2 separate regions of the Homo sapiens genome follow, and region 2 is linked to region 1. The links are contacts of gene promoters, found by promoter capture Hi-C in blood cells and fetal thymus (Javierre and others, 2016). All regions are on one chromosome and are shown on one strand. Each heading gives the region's core, a stretch centred on a gene start or on the middle of the fragment in contact. The rest is flanking DNA. Distances are from core to core; before and after follow the strand shown. Region 1 holds the start of MCTP2 (multiple C2 and transmembrane domain containing 2). Region 2 overlaps CHD2 (chromodomain helicase DNA binding protein 2).

Region 1 (4,009 bases), core at 544-3,043:
CCTTTCAAAATATGTTAAGAGACATAATAAATTTTATCTTTTAACATATTTTGAAAGGCCTTTCAAAATATGTTAAGACACATAATAAATTTTATCTTTTAAAGCTACATCTACTAGTCACAGATAGGTCACAGCTTGACCACACAAGTGCAATGAAAACAGTGCTCACTTCATTCCTGAGGACTACTTTAACTCCATTAATCCCCAGGAGATAGGATCTATGAATATAAATTTGAATTCTTATATTAAATCTGCCGGATTTACACTCTCCATCTTAGAGACAGCATGGAATAGTGAAAAAGTACGAGTTCTGCACTCAGAAATAGCCACATGCAATTTCTAAATTCACCACTGACCTTGTACAAATTACTGGACTCCTCTCTGCCTCAGTTCCTTATCTGCACAGGGGAATAGTATCTACTTTGTAGATTTCATAGACAAGACAAAGTGCCTAGCATGGTGCTTGGCACAGAGCTAATTCTTAATAATCTTATTTTAAGCATGGTTTTGACAATTTTTATTGCTTTGGAATGACTGATCAGGCTAATGACAGAGACTCTTCAAAGATTTACATTCTCCCTGCATTTAAATACTTATAACCAGCGATTACACAGGTGCTGCTGAGGCAAAGCGCAGCACCATTGGTCTCGTTCTAAACACCCACCTGTGAGGAATAAGTGCCTTAAGATTCCCCTTTGTATTAATATCAACACCTGTGCTACCCAACAGCACACCAGCCCGGCTCTCAGAGGTCTGCCCGTTAACAGGTGTACAATAAATATTTGTTGAATTGAAATGCTACTGACTCAAGCAAAAAATGAATGCTAATGTAAATTATAATCCATACAAATCCTTCAATAAGTGGTGTCTGAATTCTGTGCGTCCTGAAGCAAGTGTTCTAACGTCTCACGGTTCACTGAGAAGCTGCTTGGTACCTTAAGGGTTCGCACCCTTGTACCTTCCAGACCAAGCTCTTGTAAGCATCTAGAGGAGGCTGAAACCCTCAGTCAGCATCGCACAGAAGTTCATTCAGACTAGAGAAAACCTCTTTTATGGCAACCCAATCATTTAAAAAAAGCCGTCAGCACATTTGCTTAACAAATGGACAGTGCAGGAGGGAACTAATTGCGGAAACTAATCGCCACTCAAGTTCACCACCAACATCACTGTCTTTATTTTTAACTTACTTATCTTCAGTGGGATTGAGACACTGTTTGTTACCTACGCAATTATCCCAAGGATTTCTGCTCCGGTGTCGTTGAGCAAATGTCAGCGCAAAGAATTAAAGTTGAACCTCCGGGTCTCTACGAAGAGAGCGTATTAAAGCCCACCCAGCTGAGGAACTGACCTCTGTGGAAGGAGTCCTGGATGTGGCGGTGACTACCTCCGTAGCGCCCCGGGGAGACTGAATGTGTGGCCTTTAAAATGCAAAGAAATTCTGGGCCAGGCTGCCCTCCCCTAGTGCGCCTTCCAGTACGCCACGCCTGGATTTCTGCCTCCAGTCCTCAGGACACCTTTCTGATCTCTGAACCACAAGCAGCTCCGGGGTAGTAGCGCCACTGAATTCTCATCCTGGACCCTCCAGCTCCCCAACTCCCAGCTTCGGTTGAGAGAAGACGCCCACCCCCAGGCGGCGACCGTGCTGCCCGGCCCACGCGCGCTGCCAGGTGAACCCGGCACCGCCCTCACCTGTGCGAGGCCGCGTTCGGGGGCTGCAAAGCTGGGCAGGCGCGCGCCCCTCACCTGCACCGGACCCGCTGCAGTCGCCACTCGGAAGCGCAGGGAGCAACCCTGACGCGGCGGGGGCGGGGGCATCACCGAGGGCCCCCGGACTTCCTCGGGCCCCCCCACCGCCCTTGCGAGCCCCGCCTAAAGGGGAGGAGGCGGCCGCGCGTCACCTTTGAGCAGCCTCCGACCCAAGCGCCCGCGCTGCCGCCGGGAGCTCGGCCGGGTGTTGCAAGGAGGCGCTATGCTTGGTGCTGGGCACTGGCTGGGCGTAGAGAAGGCGATTACTTGTAACTCATTCGTTTGGGTTGGCTCACAGGAAAAGGAAGGTGTGTCCAAAAAGTCCGAAGTGAGGAAATAGGACGAGGATGGCTTGCAAACTCGTAAAGTCTTAATAAGCTGTCTTCGCTGATACTCAGAAGGGTTCTCTTCGCTCCTGTAGGTCCCTAATAGATTCATGGGAAGACAGCAGCCTCCCTTTGTAACGCCCTGACCCTGGGAAGAGGTACCCGAGCCAGACAGCCTATTAACCTATGCCACGTGTGCGCGACTGTGGGTGGAAGATGCCCGCCCAGATCCACAGAACTGTTTCCTGAGCCTTGGTGCCTCATCTATGAGATAAGGCCGGCGTACTGCTCAGCAAGCCGTCCCGAGTACTCGGCAGAGAACCCTAAAGACCCTCCCGTGCGATTGTTGGCACTCAGCGAATATTTGCTATTTATTTCCCCTTTCCCTTACTTTCTTTTTCTACTTTTTTTTACGCCGCTTTCCTGCTGTAATTGTCTTATTGCACTTTGTTTGCTCGGTTTCACTGCCTGGTCAGTTTCTTTTCCCGTCTATGAACGAGCCTAAGTCTGTGCGCTCTAGGAATTTGGGTGGATTAGGAAAAGAAATGTATGATCCATGCCTTCTGGGAGATCAGGGACTCATCTCTGGGAAATAGCATTTTTAAATTAGATACAAGAGAGTTACAGAAAATAACCTTAAAACGGGAATGGGACCTCTGGGAATAGGCGAGCTCTGAAATGAAGCGTTTAGTTGGTGTCACTGGTGATTAAGAGCTCCGGCTTTGGAGTCAGACCTCAAATCAAATTCTGCCTGGGCAACTAATTGTGTAAATGGACGAGTTCACTTAACCTCTCTAAATTTTAACTTCAACAAACTGGTTGTTTAAATAGCTTAAAATAGCTTAAATAGCTTAAAATAATAGCTATCTCATACTTTCTGAGAAATTAATTAGGTAATTCACATAAAATCCTCATTACAGTGTCCTGGGCCATGGTAACCACTTAATAAAAGTTAGCTATTAACAATACTAAGGTAGGAAATGGGAGGAAGGGGCATAAAAATTTAGAAAACATGAGGACGTGATAGAAAACAGCTGCCACTGTCATGCAATTCCGACTTACAACAATAGCTACCACTGAGGAACACAACTTCGCACCAGTTTCTGTGATTGGCATGTAACACGTGATCATATTGAATTTTCACAAACCAGGAGACAGTTAATAAAATCTCTGATTCAAGATGAGGAAAATGAGCATCAGAACCATGAAATAACCTGCCTGAAGCTATGAGTCAAGTTAGTAGCCGAGTCAGAGCAAGCTGAGGCCTATGGCAAAATTGGCTTTTCCCACCGTGCCGAAGGTTACATCCCCTAGCAGAGAACAGAGAGAGGTAAGGGTAAAACAGCATGAAAGGAAGAAGAGAAAGAGCAGTAGGCAGACGAAGCAATCATACCTTTAAAGCTGACTAAGAATACAAATGAATTAAAATAGTAAGTGAACCCACACAAAAGCTTTTTTGCCTTTAACTCCTGCCCCAGTGGAGTTCCTGTTCTGTGGTTCCGGCAGTCCAACCGCATTTTTCAATCATTAAATGGTATAGAAAGTGAAACAACTAAAGATACAGAAATCTAAGGTCACAACTTGCCCTTCCCACCACAATACACTCATCTGCCCAGCTTCCTGGGTTTTTTGTTTTTAATTGTTCAAACATATTACCTGTCTCCTTTTCTATGTTCCACCCAGGAAATGTCCCTTCCAGGGAATAATATTGTTGCTTATACCAATTTAACTTTACTACATAACCACACCAGCATTTAGAATGGCAACTGGACTCATACATGTAGCTGATAAATTTTTAACACACTTTTGTTATATTGAATTTCTCTAAACAGATTTTGAACCAGGTCTTACATTATAGGCACTGGTCAGTGATGTCATAATTATACTTAAAAAAAAATAAAATCTCCTGCACGTATCATAGGCAGCTTTCTCTCTCT
Region 2 (4,321 bases), core at 1,703-4,202, 1.2 Mb after region 1:
CTGGACAACCCCAAGAACTGTGAGGGTTCAGCAAGCGGGGTGGGTCCACTGAGCTCTCAACACAAGCTTCCGGGACCCAGACCCTCATCTGGAAACCACACAGGCCAGCCCTGCGATGCTCTGTGTAGCAGGGAGCAAGGGTCACACCACAGCCACATCTGCTTCATTCGGGGGATCCAACTTGGCATGTCTTGGTAAAGGCATTCATGGTGCTGCCCAGGACACCAGCAAGCACTGAAGTCCTCACAAGTTACTTCAGGAGTTTAACCCTGCACACGCCCAACAGAAGGGTTTTCACCAGCTCTGAGCCTGGACACTTACAGGCACACTGTATGTTCAAGTCAGTTATTCTGTCTCCATCTAGAAAGGCCTTTGGATACTCTTAACAATACTGGCAATCTATACTGAGAATAAAACTGAAGGCCCCAGCATCAGTCAATTGAAAAGAGCCTGCTTAATTGATGCAACCAAACTTGCTTCCTAAACCTGACTCAGTTCAACTCTCGTATGATTTTTACTATCTATAGCTCAAGTCACTGTGTCTTTGGATGCTCCTTGTTTGGGAAAAAGTTTAACTTAGGTTTATACCTGATTATATTCTAAGAGAAACTGAATTCAATTCTAATGATCTCCAACTACAGTAGAAACTTGTTCACCACAGGTACTTATTTCCATCTGCCCACCACATGATGTGTGATTCTGTCTACTCTATTTCTTCAAGCTGTGCAAAGGGAAGGAAATGCAGCAGGAAGTGTTGACCTAGCGCAATACTGAAAGTTTCCCCCACTTGCTGGCACTACTGAACCCCACATTAGAAGCCTGTTCACTGCCTGCACCAGGACCCCCACCTTTGTGATTGCAACAAGTTGGTCAGCAGGCCTGCCTCTGCATCCCCTTCTCCAGGTCCTGTAGCTTTCCTTCTCACCACAGGAATCAGAAATCCACCAGGGATTCCAGTTCCCTGGCCACACTACTCCCCACCTACCCCACCCTACCCCTCACTCAGCCTACTCCCCAGTCAAGTAAGACCCATGCTGGCATCAGTGTTGCCTCACTCACAGTACTCAGTCAGCCAGAGAAACCTACCTTCCCTGGCACAGTGGGAAAAGGAGGCCCACTCAGGAGACCAAAGCTCTGAAATGTACAAAGACAGTGTGGGAAAAATTAGTGTTGGCAGAGATGAAGCAGTTGTGGAAGCTGTTGCCCTCTCTCTACTTCTCCACCCCAACCCCACCCACAGGTTTCACATAATGAGGCCGAGTGTATCACTTCTCCCAAGAACACATTTGAGGGGTGTACCTGCTCCCCTTCAAGTCCTATGCTTGTCCCCACCCGCTTGCCCCAACTCGCCACTCCCCATCAGCAGCATCCATCATGTCAGAGTGAACCAAATCAACCAAATCACACACTGTTCACCAGGTCCCAGCAGCCTCCATGCACCAGTTCCTGCCCCGACCATGCACTAAGGTCCTGGGAACACTGACCCTGGCAAGAAAACATTCATGACTCTGAAGATCCCCTGTTCCTTGACTGGGGAAACACATCCCAGTGAAGCTGGTACACACACAGTCAGCTCCTCCTCCAAGTGCCCGTCAAAGTGGGAGGCCAGAACTAGGCTGGAATGGGATGGGGTGCCAAAGTGCAGGAGTGGTGACCCGAATCAGAGCTGGACCCAGTGAAAGGCCTCCCATTCCTTGAAGTGCTCCTTCAGCCAGTGAGTTGACAGCAGCAGCATGTCCAAAACTCCACTTACTGGTCTAGATAACCGGCTACTGTAGGATCAGACCAAAAATATCCACGTGTTTGGTGACTCTTACTCTCTCCTTTACGAGCTGTCCTTTATGTTTTCCGAACATTCCAGTTATAATCTGGGTTGTTTTTCTGTTCTAGTGATCTCTCCAAAGGAGACCTATGATCCAGGGGTGACTTGGAATCGTGAGGAGATTTCTGAGAAGGGGGTGAGCGAGGATCTGAGACTGCAGGGTGCAATGGGGGTAGAGGCTGTTTATATTCCCCCAGTTTATCTGTGTGGAAAGAGCGGTAATGGTCTGAGGGTCCCTGGCCATGGTAGCCCATAGCGGGGCGGTGATCAGACATTCGTCGGAAATCCTGCTGGTGGTAATTTTGAGGCCTAAATTCATCGGATCTCCTCCGCTTGGAGTCATGATGGTGCCTGAAATAGAGATGCAAGGATTAGTCGAAAGACTGAAGCCAGATTCCCATCCACTTCTCTTCACTACCCACTTGGCTCTTCCTCATATACTCATATTCAAGGACAAATGCTCACATTATTAGGAATCAAAAAAATTAATAACAGAGTCATTTTACACTTATTAGCAAAATACATCCTATGAAATAAGGCTCAAGTGTGCAGTGACACAAGTACACACTTGAAAAATTACTGATGGCTTTTGCAAACTCACTCCCTTTAGGAAAAATCTGGTAAGATCCATAAACATTACCATATTCCTGGACCCAGCCCATGAGAAAAAGAGCCACAGAAATTATTTTGTAAGTTATTAATAACACCATCAACCTAAATATGCAACAAGTGAGTGACTAGTTAATAAAATTATCTTAAAAACCAACTCAGTGTGAAGAGTATTAAAATTTTTAGCTTGGACCATGGTAAACTGCTCATGATACCATTAAAAAAAGAATTACTAAAACTCAACAACAAAAACAACCCAACTCAAAAACAGGCAAAGGATTTGAACAGACATTTCTCCAAAGAAGCTATACAAATGGCCAAAAAAAACCATGAGAAGATGCTCCATGTCATTAATCACTAGGGAAATGCATGTTCAAGCCACAATGAGACTACTTCACACCCACGAAGATGGAGATACTCATTAAAAAAAAACACAAAAAAAAAACCCAGGAAATAAGTGTTGGCAAAGATAAGGAAAACCTTCAACTCTTACACATTGCTGGTAGGAATGTAAAATGGTTCAGCCATCGTAGAAACATTTTGGTGTTTCCTAAAAACGTAAAGAATATGACTAATAATTCCACTCCCAGGCACATATCCAAAACTGAAAACAGGTAGTCAAGTACCTGTACACCAATCTTCACTGCAGCATTATTCACAACAGCCCAAAGATGGAAACAACTCAAATGTCCATCAACAGATGAATGGATAAACAAAATGTGGTATATATCCACACAACGAAATATTATTCAGCCATAAGGATGGAATGAGTACTGATGAATGAACCTTGAAAACATTATGCTAAGTGAAAGAAGCCAGACACAAAAGGTCACATATTGTATGACTCTTTCTATATGAAATGTCTAGAACAGGCAAATCCAGAGAGACAGAATGCAAACTGGTGGCTGCCAGAGGCTGGGGAGAGGGAATAATGGGGAAGGATTATTTAATGGTTATAGGGTTTTCTCTGACTGATGAAAGTGTTTTGGAACTAGATAGAAGTGGTGGCTGCCCAATATTATAAATGCACTAAGGTCATTCAGTTGTTCGCTTTAAAATAGTTCCTTTATGTAATATGAATTTCACCTCAATGAAAGAAAGAGGGAGGAAGAAGTGAGCAATCTCAAGTTCCAGTCAAAATGGAATAACAGGGACTAGATTTACCATCCTGCCTGAAACAGCCAAAAGGGACAAAATGCATAGAACAGTGGTTTTCAAGACACCAGACATCAGGCAATGAAGAACAGTGATCCCTGAGGAATGGACACTAATGAAATGAGCCTTTTAACGGCTCCTGTTCACTATCATGAGATAGTCCCTCAGGCTGTGACACAGGAAGAAGGAAACCCAGAAAGACACCAGTTGGCTTCCCAAGGTGAGGGATGGGGAACCAAGGTGGCCAGAGTTCACAGGGCATGGCATGAGAGAAGACAGTGCTGCAGAGAAAGAAGTTTGAAGATCTACAGAGGGTTCCCAGGTATACAGCTGAATACTGCTTAGGATGTGCATGTGGGGAAACTACCCAAGGCCAGGGAAAGGACCACCCGAAAAGACTGAAGGTAACAGTGCCCTGTGCTCACAAAGAACTGGCATCGTGCCTGTTCTCACCAGCCACACCAAAGACCTCCAGATGGTGATACGGTTTGGGTATGTGTCCCCTCCAAATCTCATGTTGAAATGTGACCTCCAATGTTGTAGTGGGAGGTGTTTGGGCAGATCCCTCATAAATGGCTTGGTGCTGTCCTTGTGATAATGAGTGAGTTCTCTGAGTTCACGTGAGAGCTGGTGCTTTAAAAGAGGCTGGCACCTCCTCCTCTCTCTCTTGCTCCCTCTCTTGCCATGGGACGCCTACTGCCACTTCACCTTCCACCATGAGTAAAAGCTCCCTGA

Evidence for each region. The method cuts DNA at HindIII sites, captures the fragments that hold promoters and counts their contacts. A CHiCAGO score of 5 or more calls a contact.
Region 2: a fragment that was not itself captured here is called in contact with the fragment with the promoter of MCTP2 in region 1 in 5 of 17 cell types (M0 macrophages, neutrophils, naive CD8 T cells and 2 more); the score reaches 7.5 in M0 macrophages.

What each region holds. Positions count from the first base shown.
Region 1 is chr15:94,229,345-94,233,353 of GRCh38, reverse strand. It overlaps MCTP2 (multiple C2 and transmembrane domain containing 2), which reads right to left and starts at 1,793. Exons shown (of 23, transcript NM_001385001.1): 1 at 1,690-1,793. RefSeq lists a silencer at 1,734-1,863 and an enhancer at 3,399-3,538. The HindIII fragment of the contact is 9,020 bases long and covers 1-3,525 here.
Region 2 is chr15:93,022,224-93,026,544 of GRCh38, reverse strand. It overlaps CHD2 (chromodomain helicase DNA binding protein 2), which reads right to left. Exons shown (of 39, transcript NM_001271.4): 39 at 1-2,173. The coding sequence ends at 1,840. Among named protein-coding and RNA genes, the nearest start is that of RGMA, 65 kb to the left of the region's middle. The HindIII fragment of the contact is 5,768 bases long and covers 69-4,321 here.